Regions from separate parts of the Homo sapiens genome. Here all the other regions are linked to region 4. Evidence: promoter capture Hi-C in 16 types of primary human blood cells and fetal thymus (Javierre and others, 2016). All regions are on one chromosome and are shown on one strand. Each heading gives the region's core, a stretch centred on a gene start or on the middle of the fragment in contact. The rest is flanking DNA. Distances are from core to core; before and after follow the strand shown. Region 1 overlaps LOC105378198 (a long non-coding RNA gene). Region 2 has its middle 8.4 kb from the start of PCDHA1. Region 3 overlaps LOC105378198 (a long non-coding RNA gene). Region 4 holds the start of PCDHGB1 (protocadherin gamma subfamily B, 1).

The links. The method cuts DNA at HindIII sites, captures the fragments that hold promoters and counts their contacts. A CHiCAGO score of 5 or more calls a contact.
Region 1: a contact is called between a fragment that was not itself captured here and the fragment with the promoter of PCDHGB1 in region 4, in 4 of 17 cell types (M1 macrophages, M0 macrophages, M2 macrophages and 1 more). The highest score is 10.7, in M1 macrophages.
Region 2: a fragment that was not itself captured here is called in contact with the fragment with the promoter of PCDHGB1 in region 4 in 5 of 17 cell types (M1 macrophages, M2 macrophages, erythroblasts and 2 more); the score reaches 14.0 in M1 macrophages.
Region 3: a fragment that was not itself captured here is called in contact with the fragment with the promoter of PCDHGB1 in region 4 in 4 of 17 cell types (M2 macrophages, M1 macrophages, erythroblasts and 1 more); the score reaches 9.4 in M2 macrophages.

What each region holds. Positions count from the first base shown.
Region 1 is chr5:140,735,610-140,738,309 of GRCh38, reverse strand. The region is part of intron 3 of LOC105378198 (a long non-coding RNA gene); the gene reads right to left. Among named protein-coding and RNA genes, the nearest start is that of ZMAT2, 37 kb to the right of the region's middle. The HindIII fragment of the contact is 5,793 bases long and covers 1-2,700 here.
Region 2 is chr5:140,776,398-140,779,097 of GRCh38, reverse strand. No RefSeq gene overlaps it. Among named protein-coding and RNA genes, the nearest start is that of PCDHA1, 8.4 kb to the left of the region's middle. The HindIII fragment of the contact is 642 bases long and covers 1,033-1,674 here.
Region 3 is chr5:140,753,396-140,756,095 of GRCh38, reverse strand. The region is part of intron 3 of LOC105378198 (a long non-coding RNA gene); the gene reads right to left. Among named protein-coding and RNA genes, the nearest start is that of PCDHA1, 31 kb to the left of the region's middle. The HindIII fragment of the contact is 5,694 bases long and covers 1-2,700 here.
Region 4 is chr5:141,348,625-141,351,395 of GRCh38, reverse strand. It overlaps PCDHGB1 (protocadherin gamma subfamily B, 1), which reads right to left and starts at 1,297. Exons shown (of 4, transcript NM_018922.3): 1 at 1-1,297. The coding sequence starts at 1,135. The region is part of intron 1 of PCDHGA1 (protocadherin gamma subfamily A, 1); the gene reads right to left. All of the region lies in intron 1 of PCDHGA2 (protocadherin gamma subfamily A, 2), which reads right to left. All of the region lies in intron 1 of PCDHGA3 (protocadherin gamma subfamily A, 3), which reads right to left. It also overlaps PCDHG@. The HindIII fragment of the contact is 7,439 bases long and covers 1-2,771 here.

The DNA.
Region 1 (2,700 bases), core at 108-2,607, 610 kb after region 4:
AAGGATATGAGGAGAATTGTTACTAAAGGAAATCTATGTTGTATTTTACTAATTGTTCATTTTGGGGCTTTTTTATTTTTATTTTTTTGTAGAGACGAGGTCTCACTATGTCACCCAAGATGGTCTCAAACTTCTGGCCTCAAGTGATCCTCCTACCTCGGCCTCCCAAAATGCTGGGATTATAGGTGTGAGCCACTGCACCTGGCCTCCTGTTCATTTGGATTTTCACTTCTCTGTTTTATTCTTCGTGCCTTCATCTTACTTTAATATTTTCTAAAATTCTATTTTGAGTTAATACTATGTTTTTTAGTGCATCTCTTTGTATAACATGTTAGCGGTTGCTCTGTCCACAACTTATCAAAGTCTATTCATTTTTTTCCGTCTAATTTCTCTCTGTTGTTTAGGTTGGATAATTTTTATTATTCTATCTTCTAGTTCACTTGTTATTTTTTCTGCCTCCTCCATTATGCTGCTGAACCCACCCACCCCATCCACTGAGGTTTTTATTTCAGTTATTATATTTTTCAGTTCTAAAATTTCCATTTAGTTCTTCTTTTATCATCTATTTCTTTGCTTATGCATTCTATTTTTCATTTATTCCAAGAATGTTTATAATTGCTTATTGAAGCATTTTTACAATGGCTAATTTAAAATTTCTGTCAGATAATTCTAATATCTCTGTCATCACAATGTTGGCATCTGTTGATTGTCATTTTTTCATTCTGTTTGAGATCTTCTGGTATGATAAGTAACTTTTCATTAAAACCTGGATATGTTCATATTATATTCCGCTACTCTGGATCCTATTTAAACCTTCTGTTTTAGTGGGATTTCTCTGATACCATTTAGGCAGAAGGGGGAACAGAGAAAGAAGGAGATGTCACCTAATTACTGCCAGGTGCAGGCAGAAGTCCAGGTTCCCCACAGAGCCTCCATTGCCACCTGAAGAAGGGAGCTCATTGTTACTGCTGGGTAAGCATGGAAGTTCTGGCTCCCCTGACACCACAGTGAGGATGGCCACATTACCACTGGGTAGAGGTCTAAGTCCAGTCTTCTCATATAATCCCCCCTGCTGGGAAGGGAAGTATTAACAAAAGATCATGAGATTTGAGGAAGAAGAAAAAAGAGAGTTTTATTTCCTATAAATGGTTACAATCTGCAGGTTGGGAAATGAAACATCCAGCCAAAATGAAAAGCATCTGCTTCAGAGACAAAAGGGAGAAGCTGGGACTTATGCCCAACAAGATGAGCTATATGTACATATTCAGTAGCTTATAGGAGAATCTATGAATATTTGAGAAAACCCTAATGCATGCAAAGAGAATAAACATATATGTTACATATGTTCCATGTTCATTTTGGGGTGGGGATTTAATAGTAAAGTGAAGTGGCACGTGGCTGTTTATATATAACAAGGTGAAACAGAACACAAAGGCATCTTGTGCACAGCCTCTGTGGACTAGGTGCAATCAGTCTGTGGTCGGTGGTCAGTATAACAATGGAATGTTTAATAAGGCTGGTCAGTAGTCATGGTGAAACCACGATAAAAGAGGGGAGGTCAGCCATGACATCAAGAGGTCTCTTGAGGTTGAGGGAGAAATCTTCCAGACAGTTTTTTAGGAACTCGTTTCTGTTTAATTGTAGGAAGGAAAGTTTTGAGGCAGTTAACAAGGTAGGGGAGTGTTGAGGTGTGACTGACCTCTTGCCTTGCCAAAGCCATAGAATGCAGTTTTCAAAGTTTCTGGGGTCTCTTTTGCAACAAGAAGTCCATTCTGTTTCACCTAGGGGCTTAGGGACTTTAGTTTTATTTCACACTTTCCAGCTTTAGGCTGAAATCTGCCATAGGCAGCATTGATGGCTAAATTTTCTAACATGTCCCATGTCGTTCCCAGGATGGTGTGGATACCTGCCCCAGGTCTATCTAGTCTGTCAGTGGGACTCATGTGGCTAGGAGACTTACAACCAGTTGAATATTTTAGGCCAGGCAAGAAGGAGGCAGACAGCTATTAAGACCCTTTGAACCTTTGAGACTAGAAAAACAGTAACAACAGAAAAGTTGAGAAGGTAAGTTTATGTTTATGTTGTCTGTCATTTCTATGCATTGTGCTACCATAACTTTGGTTTTAGTGACAGACTTGAAGTAGTTGGTTATAGATCTTATAAGTACTTTGACTATCAAAAATAGGAACAAGATAGTGATATGATAATGACAAGGGTTTGTAAGATGGATTGGAAGTAATTTCTAATACTGCAATGAGTCAGCTAAAAACGTTATTAAGGGGATCTGTGGTTTGTACCTCCTGTAACCAGGCAGCCTGTTGGGTGATCTTACCTACATGGGTTGTTAAATCTCCTATAATGTTGATATAAGTGCAACAAGTGGTGTGGGCTATCATGCAAATTCCCCCTTGTTTAGCAATGAGAAAACCTGGTGCAATTTGATTGTCTAAAACCACTTGAGCGAGAGAATTTAAGGACTTCTACTGTGTCATAATACTTATTGCAGCATTTTCAGCAATTTGTCCTATGGTGGCCGGCATTTTTTTTTATCGTATCTCTGTTAGTGTATACTCCGTAGCTGAGAAAAATTACACCCCAAAAACTATGCTACCACATATCCTGATATCCACTTGGTAGCTCTCTTTTAGCTTACCGGAAAGCAAGATTTTCTTTATGATTGAGATGGATGGAAAAGAGGGC
Region 2 (2,700 bases), core at 104-2,603, 570 kb after region 4:
ATTGGAGACTTCAACAATTCTCTCTCAACAAATAACAGAACAACTAAAAAGAAAATCAGCAAGAATATAGAAGAACTCAGTAACATCACTAACCAATGGAAACTAATTGACATTTATAGAACACACTATTCAACAATCACGGGCTGAGCACAGTGGCTCACACCTGTAATCCCAGCACTTTGAGACACTGAGGCAAGCAGATCACTTGAGGTCAGGAGTTCGAGATCAGCCTGGCCAACATGGTGAAACCCTGTCTCTACTAAAAATACAAAAATTAGCCAGGTGTGGTGGTGCATGCCTGTAGTCCCAGCTGCTTGGGAGGCTGAGGCAGGAGAATCACTTGAGCCCGGGAGGTGGAGGTTGCAGTGAGCCAAGAGCCAAGATCATGCCACTGCACTCCAGCCTGGGCAACAGAGTGAGACTCTGTCTCAAAAAAAAAAAAGAGAGAGAGAGAGAGAGACTCCATCATCTCAAAAAAAAAAAATTTCAAAATACACTCTTCCAAGTGCCAGTGAAACATATCTCAAAACACATCTTGCCCTGAGTCATAAAACAAGCCTCAGTAAATGTAAAAGACATGAAATCATACAGAGTGTGTTCTGTGACCACAATGGAATCAAAGGAGAAATCAATAACATAAAGATAAAAGAAAAATATTCTAACACTTGGATGTTAACGTATCTCTAAATAATCCATGGGCCAAAGACGATGTCTCAAAGGAATAAAAAAAAATACATGGTATGAGGTAAAAAAAATTTAATTTAAAAAATAACACCAATACTAATCTCTCCCAGAAAATACAAGAGGTCTTCAAAAAGTTCATGAAAAATGCGTACTATGAAAAAATATGCATGAATTTAAATAAAGTTTGCATCATAATAAACTTGTATTAACTTGTTATAACATGTCTGAGCAGGATCTAGTTTAAGCCACAAAGAAGGATAGGACTTCCGTTTGAAAAGACTCCCGATTAGAGCAACATGAATTCACTAAAATTGAAGCAAGAACAAACATCAGATTTATGGTGAAGCTTGGGTGGAAGAATAATGAAATCATTGACACTTTATGAAAAGTTTATGAGGACAATGCCTCAAAGAAATAAGTAGTGTACAAATGAATAACTTGTTTTAAGAAGGGATAAGATGATGTTGGAGATAAAGCCTGTAGTGACAGGCTATCCATATCATTTTATAAGAAACAAATTAGTCCTGTTCATACCGTAATTGAACAGGGCCAATGATTAACAGCAGATACACTAGGAAATACCATAGACATCCCAGATGGTTCAGCTTACACAATTCTGACTAAAAAATTAAAGTTGAGCAAATTTCTGCTCAATGGGTGCCAAATTGCACCCAGATCAGCTGCAGATAAGAGCTGAGTTTCCATGGAAATTTTAAACAATGGGATCAAGATTCTGAATACTTTCTTTGGAGAATTGTAACGGGAGATGAAACATGGCTTTAGCAGTATGATCTTGAAGACAAAGCACAATCAAAGCAATGCTATCAAGAGGTGTAAATTGTCTAGTCAAAGTAAAAGCTGGCTGGTCAAAAGCAAAGGTCCCAACACACACAAAAAGCAAAGGTCATGACAACAGGTTTTGCAGATCTTAAAGGTATTTTGCTTGTTGACTTTCTGGAGGGCCAGAGAACGTTTTAAGAAAGCCAAGCTTTAGCAGAAAAATAACCAGGAAAGCTTTACTATAGAGTTCTTCTCCACCACAACAACGCTCATGTTCATTCCTCTCAACAAGGGCAATTTCACAAGAATTCTGACATGTAAAATCACTGGGCATCCACCATACAGTCCCAGTTTGGTTATTTCTTTTTTTTCTTTTTCTTTTTTTTCGAGACAGGGTCTCACTCTGTCGCCCAGGCTGGAGTGCAGTGGCACGATCTTGGCTCACCGCAACCTCCACCTCCCAGGTTCATGTGATTCTCCTGCTTCAGCCTCCTGAGTAGCTGGGATTACAGGTGTGTGCCATCTTGCCCAGGTAATTTTTATATTTTAATAGAGATGGGTTTTCACCACGTTGGCCAGGCTGGTCTCAAACTCCTGACCTCAAGTGATCCACCTGCCTCTGCTTCCCACAGTTCTGGGATTACAAGTGTGGGCCACCATGCCCTGCCCCAGTGTGATTATTTCTGACTTTTCTTTATTTCCCAATCTTAAAAAATCTTTAAAGAGCATCCATTTTCCTTCAGTTAATAATGTAAACAATTCTTCATTGACATGGTTAAATTCTTAGGACCATCAGCTCTTTAGAGACGGACTAAATGGCTGGTATCATCCCTTATAAAAATGTCTTGAGCTTGGCGGGACCAAGATGGCTAACTAGAAGCAGCAGCAGTTAGAGGCTCCAATTGAGAAGAAACAAAACAGCATGTCAATCCTGCACTGGCAATCGAGGTATCCAGGTTTTATCATCAGGACTGACTAGGCAGTTGGTGTGACCCATAAAGAGCAAGAAAAAGCAGGGTGCTGCGTCGGCCCACATGGAGAAAGGGCAAACCCCACCCCCAACCAAGGAAGGTGGTGAATGAGTATGCTATCTTGCCTGGGAAACCGTGCTTTTTCCACAGATCTGCGCAACCCACAGATCGGAAGATTCCACTCGTGAGCCCATACTACCAGGGCCTTGGGTCCCAACCACAGAGCTGCACAGACTCTCAACAGCCACTCTTGCTGGAATCTGCC
Region 3 (2,700 bases), core at 42-2,541, 600 kb after region 4:
TTACATCAGATAAAATAAACTTTAAGTCAAAAACTCTAAAAAGAGACAATGAAAGTCATTATATAATAATAAAAGTTCAATTCAGCAAGAGGATATAACAATTGTAAATACAAAAGCATCCAATATTGGAACACCTAAATATATAAAGCGAATATTAATAGATCTAAAGGGAGAACAAGACTGCAATACAATGATATTAGGGGGATTTGCTATCCATTTTCAGCAATGGACAGGTCATCCAGACAGAAAATCAACAAAGAAACTTCAGATTTAAACTGCACTGTAGACCAAATGGACCTAGCAGACATTTACAGAACATTCCATCCAACAGCTGCAGAATACACATTCTTCTCAACTGTACATAAAATATTTAACAGAATAGATAATATGTTAGGCCACAAAACAAGCCTTGACAAATTTTAGATTGAAATCATATCAATTGTCTCTTCTGACCACAATGATATAAAACTAAAAATCAATAACAGAAGGAACTTCAGAAACTTTATACATTCATAGAGAGTAAATATGCTCCTGAAAAACCAATGAGTCAATGAAGAAATTAAAAGACATTTAAATATCCCTTTTGGACAAATAGAAATGGAAACACAATGCACCAAAACTTATGGGATACAGCAAAAGCAGTTCTCAGAGAAAAGTTTATAGCTATAAACACCTACATTCAAAAAGAAGAAAGGTTTCAAATAAAGAATCCAACATTATACCTCAAGGAACTGGAAATACAAGAACAAACTAAATCTAAAATTAGGAGAAGGAAGTAATAAAGGTCATAATTTAGGTGAGATGAGGTGGCTCACGCCTGTAATCCCAGCACTTTGGGAGGCTGAGGTATATGGATGACTTGAGCACAGGAGTTCAAGACCAGCCTGGGCAACATGGTGAAACACCATCTCTTCCAAAAATGAAAAAAAAAAATAGCCAGGCGTGGTGGCAGGTGCCTGTGGTTTCAGCTGCTCAAGAGGCTGAGGTGGGAGGAACTCTTGAGCCTGGGTAGTAGACGTTGCAGTGAGCCAACATCACACCACTGCATTCCAGCCTGGGTGACAGAGTGAGGCCTCGTCTAAAAAATATCAGCATATAAATAAATGAAATAGAGGCTTGAAAAAAATACAAAAGAGCAACAAAATTAAGAGTTGGTGTTTTGAGAAAAAATAAAACCAGCCAACAGTTAGCTAAACTACCTAAGGAAAATAGAGAGAAGACAAACAAAACAATAATGAAAAAGGAGACATTATAACTGATACCACAGAAATAAAAAGGATCATAAGACATTATTATACAATTTTACACCAACAAATGGAATAACCTAGAAGAAACAGATAAATTCCTGGACACATACAACCTACTAAGATTGAATTATGAAGTTATAAAAAAATTTCAAGAGACCAATAATGAGTAAGGACATCGAATCAGTAATAAAAAGTCTCCCATCAAAGAAAAGCCCAATACCTGGTAGTTTCACTACTGAATTCTACCAACATTTAAAGAAGAATAAAAACCGGGCGCGGCGGCTCATGCCTGTAATCCCAGCACTTTGGGAGTCCAAGGCGGGTGGATCACGAGGTCAGGAAATCGAGACCATCCTGGCTAACACGGTGAGATCCCGTCTCTACTAAAAATACAAAAAATTAGCCGGGCGTGATGGCGGGCGCCTGTAGTCCCCGCTACTCGGGAGGCTGAGGCAGGAGAACGGCGTGAACCTGGGAGGCTGAGCTTGCAGTGAGCCGAGATCGCACCACTGCACTCCAGCCTGGGAGATAGTGCAAGACTCTGTCCCAAAAAAAAAAAAAAAAAAAAAGAAGAAGAATACCAATTATTCTCAAAATATTTCAAAATACTAAAGAGGAGAGAATACATTCAAACTCATTCTGCGAGGCCAGCATTACTCCGATATCAAACCTGAAAAAAAGCCCCCAATTACTCCAGGGGAAGGAGCAAGTTGAACTGGAAAGGAGCAACCTGCCCTCACCACATGCCTCTGGAATCTGGGCAGGAGGAGACCCCTCAACCACCATGGACACTTGAGTTGGCAGGGAGAGCTGCTTAGAGAAGTGGTAGGGGAAGCACTCCAGCTGGTGCAGAGCCCAGAGGGTTTGTTGTGGTAATGTCTGTAGTGAAGCATAATCAGGGATGCCCATCCCCCTAGGCTTGATTTGCTCCCATAAGAGACTTTAGCCCTAGGGGAACTGTTGGACATGAGCTCTCAGGGCAGTCTTGCCCACCAAATGAGGCCAGTCTGACGTGAGCACCCCTTTGCCTGCTGACCTCTCGCAGGGCCCCAGCCTGGCTGCACCTGCTTGCAATGCAGCCTCGAGTGCCCTCGGGGGGCTGCATCATAGCTCCTGCGCTGGCAGACTGCACCAGCCCACCCACTCCCTCCCCTCACTCCAGGCCCACAACCACCCCTATATTGCTGGAGTATATGTGCATGGGTGGATTTTACCTTCCCTGTCCTACCAGCATGTGTGTGCCCATGAACCCTCTGCTGCCACTGCTGCTGGGGTAAGTGCAGTCCACTCCACCACCTCCCCCATCATACTTCCACTGTAGTCAGAGTGCAGCCCAGCCACCACCAGCACCCTGCCCCAGCACCAACATTGTCACCAGAGTGAAACTAGGCAGAGAAGAGTGGACCCTCCACTGCCCTAAGTGACCACCTCCACCTACATGAAAACACACAGA
Region 4 (2,771 bases), core at 48-2,547:
TCACCATGCCATTTTGCCCAGAATCCTTGTCTCGCACTTTTATGAGGGCTATTACAGTTCCAAGGTCTGAATCCTCTGGAATCTGGTTAGAGAAGGACATGAATGTCACCTCTGGGGCATTGTCATTCTCGTCAACAATTTCTATTTGAACATTACAGTGAGCTGTGTGTACTCCTCCATCCTTAGCTTCCACACTCAACACATATCTACTTGTCTCTTCAAAATCCAATGTGCCATTGGTTGTGATGTCGCCAGTATTTGGATTGAGATTGAAGAGGCTGGTACTTATTGGGGAATTGAGGAAGGCATAGGTGATCTCTGCATTAATGCCCTCATCCTGGTCTGTGGCCATCACCCGCAGCACGGAGGTTCCCCACGGTACGTTTTCTTGGAGGCTAACCCTGTATACCTCCTGGCTAAACACGGGAGCATTATCATTGGCATCCGTAACTCGGATCCAGATATGGGTGGTGCCGCTTAGAGGCGGGTCCCCGCCATCCATGGCAGTCAGGATTAAGCGATGAGAGCTCTGATGTTCCCTGTCTAGAGGTTTTTCCAGCAGTAATACCGGATATTTACTTCCATCAGGACTTTCCTTCGTTGACAGAGAGAAGTATTGATTGGGGTTGATGGTGTATAACTTCAGTGAATTGCCTTCCACATCTGCATCTTGAGCAGAATCCAGAGAGAATTTTACCCCGGGTAAGGCTGACTCACAAATTTCTAAGTCAATGCCTTTTGCAACGAAACGTGGTGCATTGTCATTAATATCTTGGATTACAACAACCACGTGGAAAACATTCATTGGGTTTTCAGCGACCGTTTCGAATTCTAGTGCACACTCAAGTTTCCTTCCGCAAATCTTCTCTCGATCTATCCTACCGTTCACTAACAAATCCCCGCTCTCCAAACTAACGTTGAAATAATCCTCTGCACTAACCCGCAGTTTTCGAGTTGGCAACTCCCGGACACTGAGCCCCAGATCCTTGGCAAGTTTCCCCACCCGTGAGCCGTTGGCTAGCTCCTCTGGAATCGTGTATCGGATCTGCTGGGAGATGGCCCCGCAGAACAAAGACAGCAGGAAGGGAAACAGTACCTGACTTTTCATCATTTCGGCTTCTCTGGCTCTCTGCATTTCAGGAACTCTCCGCGGAGCTTCTTTCCTCTGGGATGTTTTTCAAAAAGAAATGGCAGCACCCTGGACTTCTGTGATTTGAGCTTAGGACTTATTAGTTAGGCGCTCGAGGGTGAACAGGAGCAGCGTCTGTGCTCAGTGCACCGGACAAAGCAGGAAGGCACCCTGCCTGACGCTCCTGCAGAATTGAGAAGCCTTCACTTCCTTTTGGTCGACAGCGGCGCCCAGAGGTTGTCTTGGAAAACTGCACAGGGCCCAGCTTTTTATCCTCAAAGCGCAACCTCTTGAATCTATGTACCCTGTCTTTAATTTGCTGGAGGGAAACACATACTCACATTTTCCCCTTTACATTTCAGTTTTCTAGTTTGTCATCATCAGATAAGGGCCTTCATCATTTCGTATTCTTTTTTCATTTAAAAAATTCACAAGGTACACTGCCATTTTTTTCAGTTTTGGGGGTAAAAAAAAATCTTCAGTGATTTCACTATATTTATAAACTCTGGCATGACTGCTGTATCCAAATAAGTGAATTGATAATTTTTATTTATATTTTTAGTTGACTAAAATACCTACCTTTCTGTAAATTCATTGGAATAAGCTCCCTTATCTAGTATTTTAAATCTCTCCATATATATGTTATCAATTCAGTAATACTTTTCAAAAATAGTTTTTGCAAAAAAGAGGAAATCACAGCCTTACTATTATGTTATTTCTCTTCTTTATAAAATATAGATAATCTTTCCAGTTAAGTAGGACAAAGTCTGATATTTTGTTAAAAGGGCCAATTTAGTGTTGGGGTACACATACATGCTTTTATGAAGTGGAATCTCATATAATGTACATTTGTTTTATGAAACCAGTGCTTCTTTTTTATATGAATGTATATTAAATACTCTAGGCTGGGTGCAGTGACCTGTGATCCCAGCACTTTGGGAGGCCAAGGTGGGAAGAACACATGAGGTCAGGAGTTTGAGACTAGCCTGTCCAACATGGTGCAAGCCATCTCTACTAAAAAAAATAAAAATTATCCAGGCATGGTGGCGGGTACCTGTAACGCCAGCTACTCGGGAGGTTGAGGCAGCAGAATCACTTAACTCAGGAGGCAGAGGTTGCAGTGAGTTGAGATCATGCCACTGAAGTCCATCCTGGGTGACAGAGCAAGACTCTGTCTCAAAAACATTCTCTATAATGCCAATTCTCAGCTCCAGCCGACTTATACCATTAATGAGCAAAACGAGTTTGACTTGACCACTGGTAAATATTGGAGAGGTATTCAGAGTTCTTAGACACCCAATTTTGGAACTTATTCTGTAGTTCCAGGCTTAGAACCAGTCTTGGTTCAAAGCAAATCCCTTTATTTCAAATGCATTACCAAATGAGATCCAACTCAACAATTTATTCTACTATTTTGCAGTGCTCACCCATACTCATACTCTATTCGAAACAGCCTATTATCTGTTTTCTTAAGATACCTTTTCACTTGTTTCCTTGCATCATGCCTTTATACTTTCCATTCCTTTTACTATGAACTTCTCCTCCCTTTCTGTTGTAGTGGATTCTTGCCCATTCTTCAAAAAAATAAAAATAAATCCTTTTTAGTGAAAATGGGATGTCTGAGACCTTCCATTACCTGTAC